Linked DNA regions of Homo sapiens: region 1 is linked to region 2. The links are contacts of gene promoters, found by promoter capture Hi-C in blood cells and fetal thymus (Javierre and others, 2016). All regions are on one chromosome and are shown on one strand. The core of a region is centred on a gene start or on the middle of the fragment in contact, and the rest is flanking DNA. Distances in the headings are between cores, read along the strand shown.

Region 1 (5,203 bases), core at 2,059-4,558, 710 kb before region 2:
AGAAGATAGATGGGAAAATTCAACCAAGAAAGAATTGAAAGGACTCGGTGACAATAATACTAATAATAGGTGTCATTATTAAGCACTTAGTATGCCCAGGCACTTTTTAGACTTCTTTGGGGCTTTTCTGTTTTTGTTTTTTTTTTGAGACCGAGTCTTGCTCTGTTGCCCAGGCTGGAGTGCAGTGGCACGATCTCAGCTCACTGTGACCTCTGCCTCCTGGGTTCAAGCAAGCATGCCTGGCTAATTGTTGTATTTTTAGTAGAGATGGGGTTTCACTGTGTTGGCCAGGCTGGTCTCGAAATCCTGACCTCTAGTGATTTGCCCACCTCAGCCTCCCAAAGTGCTGGAATTACAGGCGTGAGCCACTGCACCCAGGCTTTTTATACTTGTTTCTTTTCATCACTCCAGAGATCCTATGAGGCAGGTTCTCTAAGATGATGATATTTTTCATACGAGGAAACAGAGGTCCTAAGAGGAGCAGTAAATGTTCCAAAGTCACACAGGAAAGTGGTGAAGTCGGGGTTTGAACCTAGGGCTACCTACCTCTAAAGGCCAAGGTCTTTACCACCATGTTTAAGTGTCCTCTACAGCGGCTTGCAGGGTGAGAGAAGGAAATGGGAAGAAAGCAGGCACTCAGGCATCAGCCAAGAGTCAGGAGCAGCAGCAGTAGCCGCAGCAACAAGCAGGAGACCAGGGCAAGGGAGCGGAGAGAGGCCGTTTGTCTGCGGCCCCTGGTGTGGGCATGGTCACTTCCGTTCATTTTTACTACATATCGCCCTTGCCCAGGGTGCCGGAATCAGAGTGCACTCACCGTGGAATTACACTGAAGCCTCTCACCCAAAGACAGTGAATAAATCTCATTACCAGCCGGTTCCTTTTTTATTTCCTTCCTTCCCTTGGGGAAATAATTCAACGTCATTGGATTTTTCCTGTTTGCAAAAGTAATCCATGTTCATAAAAATGTAAACATTATGAAATACATACATCATGCCCCAGAAATAGCCACGGTAATCTTTGGCACATATTCCTTCCAATATTTTTCTATGAATATATTAACATTAAAAACAATTTTAAGTGGATTCCTAGGATAGATACTATTTTGCAATTTGCTTTTTTTGCACTTAGCGTATCAGGGACAATGTTCTGTGTCAGAATATATAGATTTCCCTCATTCCATGTATTAGTAGCAAATTATTCTAAGATATGGATATGCCATAATTTTGTTTAAAATTTTTTGTTTAAAAGAAAGTGTTTAAACATTTTCTTTCTCTTTCTTTCTTTCTTCTTTTCTTTTGTTTCTTTCTTTTTTTTTTTTTTTTTTTGAGAGCGAGTCTTGCTCTGTCACCCAGGCTGGAGTGCAGTGGCACAATCTAGGCTCCCTGCAACCTCCACCATCCGGGTTGAAGTGATTCTCCTGCCTCAGCCTCCTGAGTAGCTGGGATTACAGGTGCCCGCCACCACATCTGGCTAAGTTTTGTATTTTTCGTAGAGACAGGGGTTTCACTATGTTGGCCAGGCTGGTCTCGAACTCCTGACCTCAAGTGATCCACCCGCCTCGGCCTCCCAAAGTGCTGGGGTTACAGGCATCCTGGCCTGTTTAAACATTTTATTGTTGATGGATGTAGGTTATTTCTAGTTTTCACACCTGCAAACAATGCTATCATGAGCATCCTTGTACATTTTATGTGCATGAACAAGTATTGCTATAAGACAGATTCCTAGAAGGGGAATTGCTGGGTCAGAGTGTCAGCACGCTGCTAAATTCCCCTCCAAAAGATGGTGCCAATTCACACACCCACCAGCAGAGTTCAGCCCTTGATAGAAATAAAGATGCTGCAATGTTTCTCCATTTGTCTCCCTTACAGGCGTTCACACCCAATTATCAGCAATTTTCATGTTCACAAACACTTTTCTTCCTGCAATGCAAAACCACCAGCTGGAAGGTTCCATCACATTCCTGTGTGCATTTTGCCTTTCCCCAGAAAGAGGCAGAAGCAACGTAGCCACGAACACATTTGTATTCTTCAGCAGAAATCTCCCTGCTCCTGGCCCTTCATCCACCCACTCTCTTTTAAATTACCATGGCTTGTGAAATTAGAGGCTATTAGGAAGACCCAGTGTTCTATATAATCGCTTTAGGGTTCTGTTGGAAAGCTTATACCAATGAAATAAACATGTTAGAGAGCCACTTACAAATATAGATAAATGCCTGGTGACTCGAGTGAATATTGGGCCTCATTCTTCTGATTTATCTAGCAGTTGTCTTTGTATTCCTTAATAATGACCTTGTCAGGCTTTCACTAGGAGAAGGTTCATCGAATCCATGTAATCCATTTTTTTTAAAGCCCTGTAAAAAAACATCTATGGCTTTAATGCTTTTTTTTTTTTTTTCTAATCAGTGTTTAAGTACAGGAGAGAAAAATGTTTGGGGAAGAATAAAAATCCAGGCTCAGTGGTTCTTACAATTAGCCACATGTTCAATTGGTCTGCTGATGGAGGGGAAGGAGAGGGGTCTTGATCTCCATCTTGTCAGAGGTGGGTCACCCTGTCCCATTTGTCCATTCTCGGCTGATTGATGGTTAGAACTGGGACAGACTGGGAGCATTTTTTCGTTTTTTCTTTTCTTTTCTTTCTTTTCTTTTCTTTTTTTCTTTTCTTTTCTTTTTTTTTTTTTTTTTTTTTTGAGACAGGGTTTCACTCTGTCACCCAGGCTGGAGTGCAGTGGCACGATCTCGGCTCACTGTAACCTCTGCCTCCCAGGCTCGAGTGATCCTCCCACCTCAGCCTCCTGAGTAGCTGGGATTACAGGCATGTACTACCACACCAGGCTAATTTTTGTATTTTTGTAGAGAATGGGGTTTCACCATGTTGTCCAGGCTGGTCTTGAACCCTTGAGCTCGAACAATCCACCCACCTAGGCCTCCCAAAGTGCTGGAATTACAGGCGTGAGCCACTATGCCCAGCCAACTGAGAGCATCTTAATACATCTTTAGTGTCTGATCAGGGGCTTGAAGGTACCACCTGGGTTGGAATCCAGGCCCCAGGATTTAATAGCTGTGTGACCTTGGACAAGAAGACTTAGCCTCTCTGTGCTTTCCTTTCCTCATCTGCAGCCTGGGGAGAGTAATGACACCTCACTCACAGGGTTGTTGTGACAGCAAATGAAACAGTATCTAGAAAGTACATAGAATAGTGCCTGGAGTAAGCTTTCAATAAACGGAGGACATCCTCCTGAATTCTTAAGAGACAATGTACAAAAGGAATTAAGAAGCATAATTATACCTACATCTTTATGGCGTTTAGCATTTTACACAAAGCACTTTGCAGACATGATTTTATTTAGCTCTTAAAACAAATCCTGGGAAATTAGTAGCTACTATTTCAGTTTTACAGATGGATAAACTGAAGCTTAGAAAAAAGAATTGATGTGCCTGAAGTCACAGGGCTAATGGCAGCTGCTAATACAGCCTCCAAGTCCAATCCCTTTCCTCTTGCACGAGAAAAATAACACGGGGTGTTCATTTCACCAAGGGACCCATTCATTCATTGATTCATTCTCCCATTGAAACCTTCCTCATCCTTTAGTCCCAGCTCAGCTATCAAAGTGTTCTGTTCTCTGTGCCTTCCTAACCCTTTGCTTTTAGCTCTCTAGCTCTTGTCTTAAATATCAGATATGTCCATCAAGTACAATTATAAAAGGCTTAGGGGCCCTTTGAGGTCAGGAACCATATCTTATTAATCTTTCTGTCCTTTAGTGCCTAGTACAGTGCCTGAAACAAAATTTCTGCATTTGCAAATGTTATAGTCTGGTGGCAAAAAATTCACATGCATGCAAAAAAAAATACACTATGGAGAGTATAAACCAGATCTATACCACCGCAATGGTAAGACAGCAGGGGTTACTTTTTCTTCAGGGTTTCTGGGAAAGCTTCTTAGAGGGATGACATTTGGATTAGACCTTGGAAGATGACCAGCAGTTCACCAGAGAGTACACCGTGAAAAAATTCTAAGAAGAAAGAATTGCCTCCATACTGGGTCTTAGAATCCTCCTTCTAGGGGGACACTGAGTTTTCCAGTGGAGTTCAGGAAGACCATGGACTTTTACAGTACCAAAGAAATGAATAAATAATGGTGGAATTCCAAAGAACAGAGCAGGTATCTCATCTGAGAGGCAGAATGTGGAATCTGGATTGAGACTGCTTGGTTTCAATTCTCAGCCACTGATGATCTGTGTGACCTGGTGCAAGTTGGCTCTGTGTCTCAGTTTCCACAAGTATAAAATGGGGATAATAAGAGCGTCTACCTCCCAGAGTTGTCATGACAACTAAGCTGGTTAGATCAATCTCTGACATGTAGTGAGTACTACGTATGTGTTTACCCTTCTGATTCTCCACTATCCCTGAAATTCAAGCTGGTCAGCAGCTGCCCACTTTATCTCTCTGTAGAACTGGCCCTGAATTTTGGGAGAAACTGAATTGGCAAAGAACTGAGTTAGAAGAGAAAGAATTAGTTACCATATACCAAGTCTGTCTCTGGCATGAACCCCTGCGATCTGGGTTTGGTGTAAAGCAGCTTGTCCCAAGGAGGGTTATTTGATAAAAAATTCTATCAGCTAAGTTTGGGAAATTCTGGATTAAACAGAGGCAAATCGAGATCTTTGATGTGGGATTCCTCCGAGCATTAATATATTAATAAGCATTGTGAATCTCCAAGAGAGAAGCAGAACATGTAGCATTTTCCAATCTCCCAGACTAGGTTTTCCTCCATCCTCTGCTCCCTCCACCTTCTCTCTCAGTGTCTTCTGGGATTCATATTCTGTGGCATAAATTTAGGAAGCGCTGGTGCCAAGCACTCCCTTGCTGTCCCAGAATCATCTCAGTGTCCCAAACCAATCAAGACTAATTTTCACGGACCTCTTTTGCCTGAAGGCACCAGGGGATCCTATAGCCTAAGAGAGAGATTGGGGAATTTCTCAACACATGAATTACGGTTATAACTTGTGGGTGTAAAAAGCCAAGAATTTCTACGCTTTGGACTCTGAGGATGTCTTTGTTCAGACCCAGAACTGACAAAACTCTAGGTACAATCTTCCTAGACTTACTTCCTACAAAGCGTTTAGAATGACACTTTCCAAACCTCCAGGGTAACCCTTTTGTGAAGTCCTAATTAGAGAAAAGGAGTTAGGCTGGTGAGAGCACGG
Region 2 (5,358 bases), core at 1,684-4,183:
GCTGGTGGTTAGCAAGCAGACGCAGTTTTACGCGCCCCTGCTACGGGCAGGAGCGAGTGGCCCTGCCTTCTCTGCCAGCGCGGGTTCCCTGGGGGTGAGGAAAGTGAGTTCCACGTCCCGGGTGGGGCAGGACTTGGTGTTTAGTGCCCAGCGCCAGATAACGCCGGAAGAACCCCAAGTGGAGACTGCTTGCATCCTTCGGGAAAAGTCTAAGTGCTAAGTACCATGACAGTGGCAGGAACCAAGCTGTTGGGTACAGCTTGTGGAAGTGCACACTGGCTGTCGTTGATCCAGTGTTGTATTATTTTTTCATAAATATATATGAAATATATGAAATATATATGAAATATAAAAATATATATATATATTGCCCATGACACAGACCTCAGGAGATCCTGAGAACATGTGCCCGATCCAGTGTTTTATTTGCACAGACACCCTAAAGGGCACCAGCAGTACAAGGCTGATGAAATAACTTATGGCATAGTCGTACAACGGAATACTATACAGTTCTACGAAAGGAGGAAGAGGCTCTATGTACTGATATGGAAAAATCTCCACTGATTATGTACGCTGTGCAGAACAGTACGTTATGTTATCTTTTCTACAAAAAGGAGAAAATAATATATATGTATTTACTTGTGTATATTTAAAGAAATTCTGGAAAGATGTATACAAATTTGATAACAGTGGCCAGGTTTTGAGGTTTTAAAAAATGTTTCTGCTTTTTGTTTTGAAGAGGCGGGAACTAAATTGACAGGAGACTGAGACTTTTCACTTTACGCTTTTAAAATATTTGAACATAATAACGTTCAGATCGTGAATGTATTCCATAAAGAATGAGATAAGCTGAATTTTAAAAATAAGTGGCATGGGCTGGGCGCGGTGGCTCTCGCCCGTAATCCCAGCACTTTGGGAGGCCGAGGCGGGTGGATTGCCTGAGCTCAGAAGTTCGAGACCAGCCTGGGCAACAGGGTGAAACCCCGTCGCTACTAAAACACAAAAAATCAGCTGGGCGTGGCAGCGTGCGCCTGTATAATCCCAGCTACTCCGGAGGCTGAGACAGGAGAATCGCTTGAACACGGGAGGTGGAGGTTGCAGTGAGCCAAGAGCATGCCACTGCACTCCAGCCTGGGTGACAGAGCAAGACTCCGTCTCAAAAAAAAAAAAAAAAAAGACGTGTAATTTTTATGAGCATGAATTGCATGGATCAAATGTGTTATGAGTTAAAATGCAATATTCAAGACACTGAAAACAAAATTTCCAGTATACTTCCAAATTCCTGAGAAAAATTTCAAAAGTTCTAAATAATTGGAAGTATATACCATGCTCATTCATTGGAAGACTCAATATTTTTATAGCAAAGTAAAAAAAGAACATACAGCTATACATACATAACATGGAAAGATCTCACAGATAAAATGTTGGTCAAAAGAAGGCAGACAAAAGCGTAGGTACTGAATTATTATTTATATGAAAGTCAAGAACAGTTAAACTAATTTATAGTGATAGAGATGAACCCAAGCAATGACCTTTGTAAAGTATTGCCTGGGAAGGACCATAAGGAAGCCCTTCTGGGGTGTCGATAATATCCAGCCCCCACCCACCCCCTGCAGCCTCGACTGCAGTGAACTATGCTCAAAGGATCCTTCCGGCTCAACCTCTCCTTACTCCAGCATTTTGAAGTTTAGTCGAGCATGGTGTCGCGCACCTGTATTCCCAGCTGCTGGGGAGGTTAAGGCAGAGGACTGCTTGAACTATGATGGCGCCACTGCACTCCAGCCTGGGCGACAGAGCAAGACCCTGCCTCAAAACAAAACAAAAAATTCTTTATTTTGATCTGGGTGGTAGTTTCATGAGTGTATGCATGTGCAAAAATTCATAGAATGTGTTTGGTGCACTTATATTGTGCATGTTATGTATCTCGAGTTTTTAAGCAATGAGAAACCATTGTAAGATTAAAAGGTGAATGACATGATCCGATTTATGTTTTAAAAATAGATTTTTACCAGGAACGGAAGCCAGAAGACCAGTTAAAAGGCTATCGCATGGCTGGCCAGGCGTGCACGCCTGTAATTCCAGCTACGTGGAAGGCTGAGAGGCAGGAGAATCGCTTGAACCCGGGAGGCGGAGGTTGCAGTGAGCCGAGATCGCCCCACTGCACTCCAGCCTGGGCAACAAGAGAGAAACTCCGTCTCAAAAAAATAAAAAATAAAATAATAATAATTAAAAAAAAAGGTATCGCATGGTGCTAGGTAGAAGGGACGGTGGAAAGGGGGCAGAAGAGGACGCATTGGACAGAGGTGTGGGAGCAGAATCTGCAGGGTATAGAGAGCTAGAGGGAAGTGTCAAAAATAACTTTTGGGGTTTCCACCATAGGAAATGGAAGACGAGCAGCACAAGACTGGCAGGAAAGAAAATGAAGACTAAAACTTGTGGAAGTAGAGATTTGGGGAAAGAGCAGTTGGGAGAGAGCTAAGGAATTTCCTTAAGTGGGAGGCGAGGTCCGGCGGGAACAGTTGAGGCAGGGCCTGAGAAGGGTGCCCAGTGAGTGCGAGTATGAATGGATAGGGGCATCCGGGATTAAGAGGAGAGGCTGGAGTTTCCCCAGGAGTGGTGAAGTGCCTCGAAGGAGGCGGGAGATCCCTAAGGAATACTCTTGGCGATCGGGGCAGAATCGCAGGCACTAACAGTAGGCATCGGGATAAGACTGGCAGGACTAAGATGCCAGCCAGGCTCCGCCCCGGAGGCTTGGAAGTGCGGGACACCGAGAGCAGGGATGCCGGGACAGCCGGCCCGATCCCCGGTGCGGAACCAATTGTGACGACGGCTAGGTTACCCGCCGGCGCTACAAAGGTGCCACACCGGAGGGGCGGCGTGCGCCGGCGTGCGCCGGCGTGACGCGGCTACGCGGGATGGGCCGGGCCAGGGCCAAGGCCGAGGCGGCAGCGGCTGCGAGAGGCGGCGGCACGACGACGGTCCCTCAGCCCAGCCACCATGAGCACCAAGCAGATCACTTGCAGGTCAGTGCGCTGGAGCCAGGAGCTTCGGGCCGCTCCCCCAGGCCGCAGGGGGGCCGGTGCGCGCCAGTGCTGTGGTCCGGGAACCTGAGGCTAGAGCGGGACTCGGAAAGTTACTCGGCTGTTCGCGGCGGGGCTTTGCGAGGCAGAGCGAGCGCTGCCGCCACAGCCGGGGATCCGGGGGATGCGTGGCCGAGACGCTGGGCGAGGCCAGCGCGGGGGGCTACGCCCCGAGTTTGAAGCGTGGCCCCTGTGGGCTGGGAGGAAGGACGTCCTAGCCAGGGCCGTGCAGGATGCCGGGGCGCTGTCGGGAAGGCTCTGGGGCTTACGCTTTAACTGGAAAAGATTTGAAGTTGAGTAAAGGGACGCCGAGAGGACGGTTACAAATGGGGATACCACATAGGAGTAATTTGTTAATCGATTATGAGGGCCTCAAAGTTTGGAGAATCCAGATGCAATCTAAACTTGCAGAGAGTTAACAAGTAAAAGTTGTTGTGTGGAAAATAACGACAGGTAGCATATTGTGAATATCGGCGAAGCGCCCTGCATATTTCCAAGTCCTTTATATTCATTATCATCAGACTTCACAGTAAGACAACTTAGTAGTTATTATTACCATTTTACAGTGCAGGAAACTGAGACCGAAAGACGTTGACACTCATTTATCTTACTGAGAGAGCCATTTACGAGGAGAAATGCGACGGTAATGGATGGTTTATTGTAGAAAATAGCCAGATAGCTACACTACGACTGCTCCTATGAAATAGAATAGTGTGGTTGTGTAACACCCTCATTGCTTGGTCAGCTTGTGGCTTACTGGTAATGGAGTCTAGTCCTATTGAATTGTATGTTTGGAAAACGCAAATTGAATTGTATGCTTGGAAAATGCAAATTTCATTTAATAATTTTTATGGGAAACATTGCTTAAAAACAGTTATAGAGTTTGTGTAATAAACAGTTTATTTTCTATGTTGTTACTTCTCTTCATTGGTATGAATAGTTGAGACGTGACTGTGTAGTAAGTTTTCTGTTAGCATTAGTGTACATTTACTGTTCAATTTATCCAAGGCCCAGGTGGCTTATGTTAAGCTGTTGTCAGAAATTTGCACCTAGTGTCTATAAAAAGACTTTTACTAGGTTATTTGTACTAGAAGGTGTTTTGTGAAGACGGGTTTGTGTGTGTTTACGTATTTTTATTTGTATAAAGTTTCTCCTGCTGGAGGAAGTATTCCTAGGTCATTGTGCACTGTAAAGCAGCTTGTAGCCTCCTAGAAAAACCTCTGTATTCCTCCCCTCGCTCTATGGTTTAATTCTACCATTTATTCCCGTACCTCATCTAAGAAGTGTCCACAAAACAGTACACATTTATGTAATAATGCTTTATAATTGAATCTCAACTCTGTAGTATCTTATTTTACAAATAAGGAATCTTATGCTCAGAAAGACTTGAAATTTGCCTAAAATTTTACACCTTAGTAGAGGCACAAGGACCTAAATCAGGATCATCTTGGTTTTTTCCTTGTATACCTGGAGATAGCTTGACTTGAAAGCTTTAATTCTGTTTCCCAAACAGGGGTGTTCTGTAGGATGTTGCTCCATATAAATGAAGATTGGGTTGGAATGTTGAGAAGGGATCACTTCTGTTTAAGTGTTTAGTCATGTTTGTTGGGGACTTACAATGTGCTGCGGCTCTTAGGTACTGTAGTGTATAATCCAGCAACCAGCGCTCTTCCACAGATCGTAAAACTGAGCCTCAGCATTGAAGCGACTTGCCTAAGGTCATTTAGCTTCCAAGTGACAGAGGTGTGAAATCAAAGTTCATGCCCTCATAGACTGTAGGGCCTCCAGATAAGTTTTGAAATGCTAAATTAAAATTTATTTATTGCAGGACTTATCAAAGCTTTTAATGTGTTCCCATGAAAGGAAACTCATACAAGGATATGTAAAACTGCAAAGAAGTTTACTCACAAAAGGGTGTAAAGGAGTCAGGGCTCCCGATGACTGCCTTGCCAAATAAAAAACATAACAGGTGTTTTAAGTGGGAAAAAACCAATATGACCAAGAGTACCAAGTTTACATTAGTGTGTTTATCTACCATCAACTTTTCTACCAGCTTATCTACCAAAAGCTTTTCTCACTTTATTATCTCATTAACAAAAGCCTTGTCTCTAGACATTGATAATTTATAGGAAATGTTCAAGGTATGATTTATTTTGGGGACCAGATCTAAGCAGCGTGTGCGGTTTTTTGTGGGTTTTGTTTGTTTTTTTGTTTTTTTTAATCTCAGGTCACAAAGTTTTAGGTTTGTTTTCCTGACTGTGGGATGTGATGTACATGT

The links. Contacts are between HindIII fragments. The CHiCAGO score rates a contact against its expected background, and 5 or more counts as called.
Region 1: a fragment that was not itself captured here is called in contact with the fragment with the promoter of MKRN2 in region 2 in 1 of 17 cell types (naive CD8 T cells); the score reaches 5.3 in naive CD8 T cells.

The regions. Positions count from the first base shown.
Region 1 is chr3:11,848,341-11,853,543 of GRCh38, forward strand. No RefSeq gene overlaps it. Among named protein-coding and RNA genes, the nearest start is that of TAMM41, 4.1 kb to the left of the region's middle. The HindIII fragment of the contact is 202 bases long and covers 3,208-3,409 here.
Region 2 is chr3:12,554,154-12,559,511 of GRCh38, forward strand. It overlaps MKRN2 (makorin ring finger protein 2), which reads left to right and starts at 2,934. Exons shown (of 8, transcript NM_014160.5): 1 at 2,934-3,023. The coding sequence starts at 2,998. It also overlaps a transcript of MKRN2OS not described here. RefSeq lists enhancers at 2,554-2,663, 2,714-2,773, 3,161-3,684, 3,594-3,653 and a silencer at 2,944-3,033. The HindIII fragment of the contact is 4,764 bases long and covers 1-4,568 here.